Regions from separate parts of the Homo sapiens genome. Here regions 1, 3 and 4 are each linked to region 2. Evidence: promoter capture Hi-C in human tissues and cell types (Jung and others, 2019). All regions are on one chromosome and are shown on one strand. Each heading gives the region's core, a stretch centred on a gene start or on the middle of the fragment in contact. The rest is flanking DNA. Distances are from core to core; before and after follow the strand shown.

Region 1 (2,871 bases), core at 221-2,720, 1.1 Mb before region 2:
TTTATTAAAAAAATTTAAAGATGATAAAACATTAAAAAAGAAAGAGAAATTGATTTGAAGACGCAAGATGGGATTGAGTTGTAATATAAAAGTTGCTGGTCTTTTACTCCTGAGAGGCAGGACCAGTTGATTTATAATCACAATTTTGAGCTTGCTTTCCCCCTCCTCCTCTTCCTCTCCTTCCTCCTTCCTGCCTCTCCCTGTTGGGAAGGGAGTGTAGACATGAGGTGACATGTCTCTTTTGATTTACCATACTGTGTCTTCATTATGAGCGCTGGCGATCAGGCAGTAGTGTTTTCTAACTTCAAAGGCTTCAGCAGCCTGTGCAGCATGCAGGGGAACTGAGGTGCCAGGATACGGAGTAACAACAATATGGTGTCGTCATATTTTAGGAGTGTCAGCTTATTCTTTATTTGTGGCACATCAAAGTGAAAATGAGGACACAAGGAAGCCTTTCCTCTTTGTTATTCTCTTCTTCAGTGACAATAATGTCTTCCAACTCAATGTCCAGGCCAGAGTCCTAAAAAACTAGTTCTTTCGAATTTAATATTTCTCATGCTTAAAGAACTTTAGGGGGAAAAAAAGCTACCAATAATAAACTGGAACAGAAAAGCTGCATGCTTATTGAGAAACATATTTAGAGAATCCAAGAGCCTATTTAGGGTAATGTAAGTATTGCTAGGTATCAGTGAGGAATAACAAGGTAACAATAATAATATTATAGCAGCTAATATTTATTGAGTGTTTACAAATTACCAGACGTTGTTTTAATCATTCATATAGATATTGGAACTGTGGCTCAGAGAGCTTAAATAATTCAACTAATATACAATGTGGTGTGGAGCTTGGACTCCAACCCATTGGACTCAGAGCCCACTCACATGAATATCAATTATTTAGCCGAGTATCATCTGTATTAGGAGTTAGGTTTTCAATTCAGTTCTTGGGGCATGGGGCAAACATCAAAAATAGTCAAAAGATACTGTTAACTTGGCTATAAAATACAGCATACTTTTTTATGTCTGGGTGTATGGATACAACTGCCAAGTAATGCTTATAAAAATATTTAATAAATAAAAGAACACCATAGCAAAATGAAACTTTAGATTCCTTTAAGGTACAAAAAGGAGCAAGCATACGTAGCTGCATTTTCTTATATAATATTGATATGTAATGTGACTTCAGTGAAATATAAAAGTGAGGTTACTGGAGGTTGGTTTCTTTATTTGAAAAGAAGCTACATAGATGTAGGTTACAATCATTGAATCACGTGGATTTATGCCCTGTTTTCCCAAGGAATGACCTTTACACAAGAGTCCAAACAAGAGTGTCACCTGGGGAAGTAAAAGCTGCCTGTGACTTGGAGTAAGAGCTTCAGGTGATACAAATACTGTCATCTGTGCTTTACCCCTCCTCCTAAATGCCTGATTTAGCCCTCACAGTGACTGTGTGCTTGGAAATATTTCCATTATTTTTAGAGTAGGTGGACCTTCAAGGATGTTAAGTAACTTGTCCAAAGTCACAGAGTCAGTCACTGTTTTAAGAGTTTGCTAGGAAATCCTTGGAAACCTCTGCTTCTGCTGTCCTTTTGTCAGGTGGTCATCATTCCTTCATCTGCGAAAAAAATATGAGCTTGATAAAACTGCTACCAGTGGAGCATGTGCCACCAAGATTGGCTTTGATTCTCCAGGGATACCCTGTATGTATCAATAAGAGGAGGAGATAAAGGCCGGGCGTGTTCAGCAAGAATGTTTCTATTTTGCTCTATGTCATGATAAATTACGCTTGCTGGCTGCATCGAATATTTCTGTTGAAGAAGAAAGAACACCCCACTCTCAGGATCCAAATTGAGAAAAGGATAGCTGTTCTTGGATGTCATCACTGCCAATCTGCCCTGAAATAAAAGAGAGAGTCCATTTCCGCTGTGTTCCAAGGAAGCAGCGAGCCCTAGAACGTGACAGGTCTCTCTTTCTGCCCCTCCTCATCGAGGGAAAGGGAGAACTACTGAAACAAAAAGAAGGAAACCTCACAAGCAGAGGGCTGAGAAACCTAGGCAGATAACATCTCCTTATTTCTTAACACTCTCTTAGAAAATTAAAAGGACTTTGTAGAAAATCCTTTTGACTGATGGAGTAGCTCCGAGGAACAGAGAAAGACAGATTAACAAGATGAAAGACCAGGAGCCAGAGGACCCAGACCAGGAGCCAGAAGACCCAGATGCTTTGAGGGCAACATCTTCCTTTTGTTGGAAATAATTAAGTGGTTCCTCTTATTAGGTCATGAGTGAGGTATTGAACACTCCAGCAGTAATCTGCACAGACCTCCATTCTTCCAGACCTCCCTGCCAACAATTCCGTAAGCACTCAATTCCAGTAAAATCCTTCTTCTGTTTAAAATGCCTAGAAAATTTTCTATTTTCCTGACCAGCTTTGACTGATACAAACAGAAAATGTGGTGCCAGGTCCTGCAACCATCATCTTGCAGACAATCCTTTCACAATATTCCAACATGCTGAGGATTCCGAGACAGAAAGACAACAGATTCTCAGACGATGTCATTGAGCCACTGCCCCAGATCCCGACAGCATCGCGTTTTCACTGCTTTTTAGGTAAAGGAAAATAAAATATACTTGGGTCAGTCAAATTAGTTTAGTTGTAGCCAGAGTATTCCTATTTTTTACCCAAGCTTCTCATCTGAGAAATGGGGCTACAGCAAGGTTTAGCATATATTTAATGGGATATATGCAGGGTGCTTGGCATCAAGTAACCACTTAATGTTGGTGATTAATGTTGAATCATTTTACTAGTCCTTAAGTTCAAAATAAGATGTATCTTTTCCTCTCAATGAAATTTCCGCGGAGGAGAATTATGC
Region 2 (3,203 bases), core at 437-2,936:
GTCTGGAGGGCTCCGGGTACCGGCTGCCCAGCCAAGGCTAAGTTGGTTTTTGGCTCCCTCCTTCGGAACAGAGAAAACGATAGATTACACAGGGATGGATGGACGGATGTCTGGAGAGATGGAAAGATGAATGGATGGATGGATGGGTGGATGGATGGATAGATGAATGGGTGGATGGATGGAGGGATGGATGGACGGACGGACGGACAGATATATGGATGGATGCATTATGGATGGATGCATGGACGGACGGACGGATGCACGGAGAGATGGATGGATGCATGGATGGATAGATAGACGGATGGACGGACGGATAGATAGATGGATGCCGGAAAGGAGAAGAATGAGAGACGGATGTGAGACTAGATGCACGCAGGCCAGAGCACCAGCATACGCTGGAACAGAGCACGAGCATACACTCGAACACACGCGCACACACTCAGGACATCTGCGCACAGACATACAATCCTCCGCGTCCGCTTCCACGCAGGCATTCGCGCACCTACATACACGCAGTTGCACGCGCGCGCACACACACAGGCACACACACGCAGACATGCACACACACGCAGACATGCACACACACCACACATGCAGACATGCACACACACGCAGACATGCACACACACACCACACATACACACACACACACACACAGTTCGCCTCTCCCTGGGTTTCTCAGAAACTAAATGATCACCGCCCCCCCGCCCCGCCCCACCTCCCGACACAGACACACAGGCACATACAATCCTCCCAGCACGTCCGAACGGATGCACAGAAAACTGAGCACCCAGACGGGTCCCGTCGACCCCGCACGTTAGCTCTAAACTGTGTGCAATTCTGGGGCGAAAAGCTAAAACTCGACTGCGTTCAACTTGCCGGCGGGTTCCCCAAGTCTGCGGGGCGAAGAGCTCGGGCCCCTCAGGCCCGCAATCGCACCCTCGGGGCGCTGGGCTTGGCGAGGAGAAAGGTGTCTGACTCCGGGTGCTAGAAATCAGGTCACTGGCGCCTGACGAGCGGCGCCACGACCGCTGCGCTGCGGAGCAGGCCCCGCAGCCCGGTCCCGAGAAGCGCAGGGCTCGGGAAACTTTGCAGAAACCAGAGCTCGAAAGGCTTTCGCTAGAATCCGGGAGCACCAAGCCTTCACTGTGCTCCAGGCTGCGTTTTCCCCTCGCCCCGGGCTGGCTCAGGAGAGGACGTGGTTCTTGTAATTTTTTTTTTAAATCCCGGCGTTGTCTCCCGTGCATCCCCTCAGGGCGCCTCGAGCGGGCCTCTCTGGCGGATGCTGATAAACTTTGGCCTTTGGTTACAAACTTGGACAGACCCGCCGCGTGCACGGGTCACCGCCTCGGGGCAGGCTGTCCGGCGGTTCCCCGCTGCCCCTTCGCCGATCCCCTCGCCTCAGCCCCCTTCTCCCGAATCGGGACGCACCATTCACACTGGGCTCCCCCCGCACCACCTGGCCCTGCGCTCCTGAGGACCCCTCACCCGCGATGGCCCCTCGCTGTCCCCGACCACAGAAAGGCCGTCCCGCTCTTACCTTCATTCGCGGGGTATACCCTGGAACCTGTGACAGCGTCGCAAATCCCGAAGAGACACGAAAATAGGGCGAAATAGAAAATCCCAGCCATGGTTCGCCGGTGCCAACGCTGCTCCTGCCGCTTCTATCCCAGTGGAATAAATGCTTAAGTTAGGAGAGCAGCGGGCTGAAGACATTGCCAAGGGGGCGGGCCCGGCCGGTGACGTGAGCCCGCCAGTCCGGGGCCCGCGGCCAATGGCGGCGCAGACAGGGCGGCCGAGCCCCGCCTTCACCGAGCAGGGCCCGCCCCAGGGTTCCGCCCCCTCCGGGCTCCACGGGGCGCGCGGTCTCCCGGGGCTCTAGGGGGCGAGCACGGCCGGTCCCCGCCCCCGCCTGCCGGAGGGAGCCAGCGGGATCCCCCACGTTACCTCGAAGGTCGAGCCCCTGGACGGCGGAGGGACTTTGGAAAAGCTCGGAATTGACCGAGGGGAGCCAGAGAAGAGGTTGGAAACCTTTTCTCCCACCACGGGCGGTTTAAGATGGAGGAAAACGCTCTTTTATTGAAATAAAAGAAGTCTAAGCTGACCTGCGGTTGCTTCTTTAGGAGAGTCGACGTGTCTGCGTCCAGCGCGCCCGGGCTGAGCTGCAGACTCGCGCCTGCCACCGCCACCCTCTGCCACCTTGCCCTGTTTTGTCTTTATGGCGCTTCCCCCTCTGAAATACTCTTTGCGGGGAGTTTTGTGGCTCTATCACTCGCTTCTTCCCTGGCTCCCCAGATGCCTGGAGAGCGGGGACCTACTTGGTCCCCAACGTCCAGTCCGCAGCAGGGCTCCGTCACTGTCTCCAGAGACTGAACGAATGACTTTCTAGCAGTAAGGAAGTCCCCGCTGGCCCCGTCCCCCTGCACACGCCGTGGACCTCGCCCAGGGCCCAGGACGCCCCGAGATGGCCTTGGGCAGGGAACCAGTTGTGGATTTCCCGGGGGCAGGGTTGGGGGCAGTCCCTGGAACCGGGCCTAGCCCGTCTGGGAGCGGTGGGGTAGAAGTGAAAGGCTTAAGTGTGGGTGCGGGGACTTGCAGCCGCACAGACAAGGCAGACCGGGACTGGGAAGCTGCCCGGAGCGGCTGCTGCGACTCTCCGCTCCGACCTAGCCGGGGCAGCCCTCCCTGCCCCGGGAGAAGACGGCGAGCAGGAGGACCCGCAGAGCCCCGCCCGGCTGCTCCGGCCCCGGGGGCACTGGCACCATCGGGCTGTGGTCTTTTCCCGATGCCCGAGCCGTGGACGCGGCCACCTAAGAGCGGTCCGGCGAAGGCAGCGCAGCCGGTGTCCCAGGGACCGGTCCCCAACGCCACTCGGTGCATTTCCCCAGGCGCTGGCAGGGGCACTGATTCCTAGCAATGAGGCCTCCCTTCCCCTTCCCAGGCCGCCCCTCCTCTGACTCCCTCCAGAGCAGGGCCGAGTTTTCCTGGGGAGCCTGGGTCCCGGCGGCCGGGCGGCCGCTGGGAGGTGGAGGAGCCTCTCCAGCCCCGGCCGCAGCTCATCGTGAGCCAACCGCGCCACCTGCCGGCCAGATGCGGGAGTGTGCGGCCCCGGAGGAAGGGCGAGCGGACAAAGACCGCAACCCGCAATCCGCAACCCCGCAGAGAGGTGGTGCGTGCGTTTGGGCGAGCTTTTCAGCCACCGC
Region 3 (2,868 bases), core at 256-2,755, 1.1 Mb before region 2:
AAACTGGTTCTGTTCAAAATGGAGATTGAAATTTCCAAATTATTTCTCTTATTATCAGCACACCTGGAGACCTGAACTGTGGCACTGGATGTAGCTACTGTAAATAACGTCTTGGAATCTCTCACCCATATGTATTTGCTCTTATCTGTATGTAAAATGAGACATAGCCTTATTTTCACTTTAATCTAAGTCTGACACTAATGACCTCTCTGATAGTAAATCAATTATCCATCCATCCACCCATTCGTCCACCCATCCCATCAATTTGTGTTATTAGGTACCTACTGTATGCCTAATGTTTGCTAGTTGCTGGAGAAATCATAGTGAGAAAAAAAAGAATCAGTCTCTGCCTCAGGGAACTTACAGTCTCGTGTGGAGTGAGGTACTATTTTTAAAAAATCATGCAAATAATTATGTATTTTCAGTGGAGGAAACATACATGATACCATGACCATGAAAAGTTTTAGTAAGGCAAGTTGGACTAGTTAGGACAGGCAAAGAAGACTTCCCTGAGAAAATAATGACCAAGGTGAAGAATGGAAGAGGAAGGGAAGGAATATTAACCAGAAAAGGAATGGAAGAGTGGATATTAGACAGGCAGCAAATTTGTCCTCCCTCCCAAATTTCACATTAAAACAGAAGCACTTTAAATTTATATTGTGAATGACATGGAATTTATACAATGTTATGGTCATGCAGTGTTTCTAATTTCTGCATTGTCTATGGCTTATAAACAGCTAATGAGAAAAGCTTTGTCATCTTAAGCAAGTGCCCCATCTTCTACAAATGATAATAAATACTTATAGATTATGATAATTATCTCATATCTTGGTTAAGATCCCAACCAATAATAAAATAAAACAGAGAGAGTGACTGGGAACCCGTAGTAGATTAGCCACAATTCCAAAATCTAAACAGCTCTAACCACTTAAAAAATTGTAACTTAGTTCCTGATTGAAACCTTTTTGGTAAAACTTGACCTGTGCTAATGTGAGGATATTTATTACTTTTAAGATTCTCAATTGAAGTGTTTTCTTGTGAAGGGCATATGAGAGTGTTACGGAACTTTTAGAGGATTCCATTTCTTCCTCTTCTTTGTTTCCTTTTCTTCCTTTTTGTTCAATCCAATTTTCAAAATTCTGTATGCAAAAAAAAAAAAAAAAAAAAAAAAAGAGGCTGTGTGGGGTGGCTCAGCCTGTAATCTCAGCACTTTGGAAGGCTGAGGTAGGCAATAACTTGAGGTCAGGAGTTTGACACCAGCCTGGGCAATGTGGATAAACCCCATCTCTACTAAAAGTACAAAAAAAGAGAAAAGAAAGAAGGAAGAAAAAATTAGCCAGGCATGGTGGTGCACACCTGTAGTCCCAGCTACTTGGGAGGCTGAGGCAGGAGACTCGCTTCAACCTGGGAGGCAGAGGTTGCAGTGAGCTGAGATTTGTGTCACTGCACTCTGGCCTAGGGCACAGAGCAAGACTCTGTCTCAAAAAACAAAACAAAACAAAACAAAACAAAACAAAACAAAATGCGTCTCCAGAATTTCAGATATGTACTCTTGTTCCTTCTGTCTTTTTAATATTTACTTTACTTTTTAACGAAAATTATGTGTGGTGTGTGTGTGTGCATGTCCACGCACATGTGCTTCAAATAGGGGTGGTAGAAAGAAAAGTTTTTGCTGAGAACCAGGAGTTTTTAAGGCAATGTGGAATGAAACATCTGAGGATTGGCTGCCTTGGAAAAAGCTTCATGAAACATTTGCAAGTAGACTTCTATTTCTACTCCCATCTATCAGTCTTTGACATGTGGATTATCTGTAGGAGAGATATTTGACTGTTTTTATTCTTAAACAATTAGGTAAAGACATTCCTAGATCAGATCATACATTATTTCTCACTGACTTCTGTCGTTCTGGCCATGAAAGAGTCAGCAGGTGACTTGTCTTTGTTGATGAGTAGGATTTGTACTTCTCCAGTGGCCAGGAGGAATGGGAAAGATGAAGGCTAGCAAGAAGGCTGGACAGTGAGTTTCAGGGAGGGGAAGGGTTGGCAGCCCAGATTTTCAAAACCTTGAGCTTCACTTCTTAGCAAAGTCCTCCCCTTGCTGGAGGTAGAGTGGACTCGGTATTGGGGTAAAGTTCTATTGGCTTGAGACTGCCTGATGTAGACAACTTCCTTGGAACAATTCTGATTTCACAGTCGGGACCCACATGACAGTGTAAAACCCTATTCTCTAAGCATTATAAAGAATCATAGGGTTCATCAATCCAATGTCTCCTTTCTCACCATCGGGCATCCCTTTGCAAGTCTGAGGAAAGCCTTCTATTCTAAGAAAACTGTACATTCACACAGTATTTCACGCACCTTTTTTTTTTTTTTTTTTTTAAAGATTTCACAGGGTTGGTGAGAGAGGTCCTTAGACAACAGAGTTAGAGCTGTTGATACAATCCACTGGTTATAGTCCATTTCACACTAAGTAAAACTGAGGCCCTTGGAAGCAACAATATATCCCCAAGACCACAAAATAAGTTTATTTAAGAGCTTGGCTTAAAATCCAAATCTAGCTACTTCCACCTCAATTTTTTTTTTTTTTTCCACAATGTCAGGAGTATATCTCCTTAGCAATTTTTTTTTTTTTTTTTTTTTTTTTTTTTTTTTTTTAGTTTTTAAGGAAAGAAAAGCTGTAGCTTCTCTCAGCAGTTTTAAATCCTGGAAGGGCATTAGGCAGGGAAGTCTAGAGTAGTGAATTTCCCATTAAATTTCCCTCTTCCATTTTATCTTAATTTTCCAGTCTCCATTTTAGTTCCTTTAAAAATCTGTCTAGCCAATCTTTCTTCTCTCATGTCCAGGGCTTGTCAGGGATGTGACCACTTAC
Region 4 (3,327 bases), core at 432-2,931, 1.1 Mb before region 2:
TTTAAAAATATTTTTTAAAATTGCTTCTCTAGAAAGAACTCCAATTTCCATCCCCATTTCAATTATATGAAAATATCCATGTCTTCATACCGTTAGCAATTCTGATTTTTCATTCTTTTGATTAAAAAAGCTACAATTTTTGAAATGTTCTTTCTTGAACTGAGTTGACATTTGCCTATCCAAATCTTCAATCTATTGATCAGACTTTCCTTCACTGGAGATTTGTGAGATAAGCTCAATTCCTCTTCTTTAAAATGTAATTTCAGATATTTGAAAATAATTATCATGCCTCCACTGTGCTCTGTCTCCAGTTATAGTATTTTTTTTTTTTTTGCTCTAATAATTACTCCTCCTATAATCTAGTTTCTAGTCTCTTCACAGTTCTGGTATCACTGTTCTTGATAAGCCTCAGTTAATCTGGACTGCTATATGTGTGAGTGTGTGACATACACACGTATGTATATGTGAATATTTATTCACACGTCTATAGACTGACTGTTTGTCCACCTCCCACTCCCCAAATTCATATGTTGAAACCTAATCGCCAATGTGATGGCATGAATAGATGGGGGCTTTGGGAGGTAATCAGGTCATAAGGGTGGAGCCCTCATAAATGGCATTAGTTCCTTTATAAAAGAGACCCCAGAAAGCTCCCTCTCCCTTTTCACCACATGAGGAATGTCTGTACACCAGGAAGTGGGCTCTCACCAGACATGGAAACTGAAGATGTTTTGATCTTGGGTTTCCCAGCCACAGAACTGCGAGAAATAAATGACTGTTGTTCATAAGCCACCCAGTCTACAGAACTTTGTTATGTAAGTCTAAATGGACTACCACAAGGATTAAACCAAGGACTGCCACTGTACGAGCACTGTCTTCTTTGTTTCGAACATGATACTGCTACTGGTGTGAGCTAAGTAGGCATTAGTTTTTCTTGGCAACCATGCCACCCCATTGGCTCATAAAGAGACTGATATCAACCAAAATTCCCAAGCATTTTATAAACAATCTCATAGTGATATCAGGTATCCACTGTACTTCACTGACTCAGTTGCTTTCTGAGGCCCAAGTGCATGACTTTAATAGGAATCAATACAATCTTTAATTCTAGTTTGTCAAATTCTTTTTGAAAACTGATTTTATCACCAGATGTGTATTTAATACAAACTTGACAAGGACATATCTTGACTTGTAGTAATTAAGAAAAATACTGGATGACATCTATTGCAGACATCTTGTTCCACCCTACTTGTCTGTTATTGATCCATTATCAACAGACAACATGTGTGCATGTGTGTATAGATATACAGGGAAACTGTAAAACAAATCACAAAGTATTTTCAACTTGCTGATATCAAAATATATTCTTTGTATGGTATTTTTCTGACCTCCTTGCCTGTATTTTTTTGTAATGAAAATTAGCTTAGCATGATTGGTTGATTGTCTATGTTGGCTCTTTGGCTTCAGAATATAGCCAGGGTCAACATCAAGCTCAGCTGTATGTAGTCACTAGTTCCTAACTGTATTTCTCTATTTTAAAATGTATTTCATCTACTAGAACACCTTGCTTTTAGAGCAATGTAAGCATGTGTTCATAAGTTGGCCTTGTATATAAGTCATTTGGGTCTAATGACTTCTATTCATTTCAAACAGAGAGATGTTACTTAACTATCTTCTACCATCTTTACTTCTGGTTCCCTGATAATTGTGCTTGTTACCTACATTTTCCAGTTTTAAAATCATTATGATAGAAGTAGAAGATGGAAAAGGTGATCTTAGATAGGAGTCAAGTTCTCATGCTTTTGCATTATTTGTTAATGATGTTTTATTTATCTGAATTCTTGAATTTAAGCCTTTCTCAATCTTAATATTATGGCTATATTTTTAATAACCCAGTGTATTGCTCTTGACACTTTTACTACATCTGTTTTTCAACTTAGAATTTACCCTCATATATGAAATCAATTGTCCTTATCATAACTGACCTATACATTTAAAATAGTTCAGTGATTACAAAAATAGTTTCTCCCTAGTGGTATTTAATATAATCAGATCATTAATAGCATGGGCTTATGTCCTCACATGTATGCTGCTTTTAAGTTTTCAAAGCATTTTATACATTTTTAATCTTAAGAACTAGACTCAGTCATAAGATTAGATTTGATCATAAATCTAAGTTACTTCCTGGCTCATGTAATGTGAGGTGATGCTGAGTAAGGTAGAGATAACTTCATTTTCTTAAGAGCAGTGTGTGTGTGTGTGTGTGTGTGTGTGTTTGTGTTTTATACATATATATGTTTATGTGAATATATATCTACATGTTGTACTCCTTATTTAAGAATTTCCACACTATATAAAATAAATATAGAACAAAAACTAATTGGCATCTAACTAAATACAGAGAGGGGAATGCAACAATTTCAATGTGAGGGTCATATTAAAATAAAACAAGAATGTAATCTTAGATTATAGTCTTTTTTGAGGGTGACTAACCATATCCATTTGCCTGAGAACTGGAGGATTTCCCAAGATGCAGAACTTTCAGTGCTCAAACTGGGAAATTCCTGGGCAAATTGGGATGAGTTGGTCATCTTATCTTTCTCCTAATTCTTTCCAGATGACACCTCCCCCTGCTGTTTTATTTTATTTTATTTTATTTTATTTTATTTTATTTTATTTTATTTTATTTATTTTAAACCTGGAATGGTTGACCACCTTCCAATTCTAACACAACTAGCTTTTCTTTGGCCAATTTCGTTTTCTTCTGTCTTTTAGGTACTATTTCTTGTTAGTCTACAGACTATTATTTCCTTCTTAAAACTACCCTCCCTTCCATCTCTCTCTCTCTCTCTCTCTCTCTCTCTCTCTCTGTCTCTCTCTCACCCACCTCTCTTACTTGCTGTCTTACCTTATGAGAGAGCAGCTAGGGCCACACAGTTTCTTCTTAATGCTCTCGTTTCAATGTTTAGTTTATGACCATGAAATGATCATTAATACCTCCGGATAATTTGCATTTCTATTTTCATTGGGAAATTCCTCTTATCTCTATACCAATGGCCTATACTTTTGTGATTTGAAGTTCAAGTTGAAGCAGCTTAGTTTTATGACACACTTTTGAAGACCTGAAATAACAGAATACTGGAGTTCCCTGGAAGTAGCAACATGGTCTTGATGCTTATGTCCCCATCTGGTAACAAAGAGACTGATCTTTGATCAGATTGACAGAGCCCAGGTGCACACAGGATCCAGTTATGTAAGTGTTGACTCTATTCGTTCCTACCTGTCATTGTATATAATGATCAAGGGTTGCAAATTGGGGTATTGTAT

Evidence for each region. The method cuts DNA at HindIII sites, captures the fragments that hold promoters and counts their contacts. A contact is called where the count stands out against the background at its distance.
Region 1: a contact is called between a fragment that was not itself captured here and the fragment with the promoter of EPHA4 in region 2, in 1 of the 25 tissues and cell types used here (dorsolateral prefrontal cortex).
Region 3: a fragment that was not itself captured here is called in contact with the fragment with the promoter of EPHA4 in region 2 in 2 of the 25 tissues and cell types used here (dorsolateral prefrontal cortex and heart left ventricle).
Region 4: a fragment that was not itself captured here is called in contact with the fragment with the promoter of EPHA4 in region 2 in 1 of the 25 tissues and cell types used here (IMR-90 fibroblasts).

Annotation. Positions count from the first base shown.
Region 1 is chr2:220,491,550-220,494,420 of GRCh38, forward strand. LOC105373893 (a long non-coding RNA gene) reads left to right here. Exons shown (of 5, transcript XR_001739889.2): 5 at 1,596-2,871. Among named protein-coding and RNA genes, the nearest start is that of MIR4268, 590 kb to the left of the region's middle. The HindIII fragment of the contact is 5,873 bases long and covers 1-2,871 here.
Region 2 is chr2:221,570,618-221,573,820 of GRCh38, forward strand. EPHA4 (EPH receptor A4) reads right to left here and starts at 1,687. Exons shown (of 18, transcript NM_004438.5): 1 at 1,541-1,687. The coding sequence starts at 1,631. RefSeq lists silencers at 1,643-2,062, 2,663-2,942, 2,993-3,152. The HindIII fragment of the contact is 17,926 bases long and covers 1-3,203 here.
Region 3 is chr2:220,518,752-220,521,619 of GRCh38, forward strand. No RefSeq gene overlaps it. Among named protein-coding and RNA genes, the nearest start is that of MIR4268, 610 kb to the left of the region's middle. The HindIII fragment of the contact is 6,151 bases long and covers 1-2,868 here.
Region 4 is chr2:220,471,269-220,474,595 of GRCh38, forward strand. All of the region lies in intron 4 of LOC105373893 (a long non-coding RNA gene), which reads left to right. Among named protein-coding and RNA genes, the nearest start is that of MIR4268, 570 kb to the left of the region's middle. The HindIII fragment of the contact is 9,613 bases long and covers 1-3,327 here.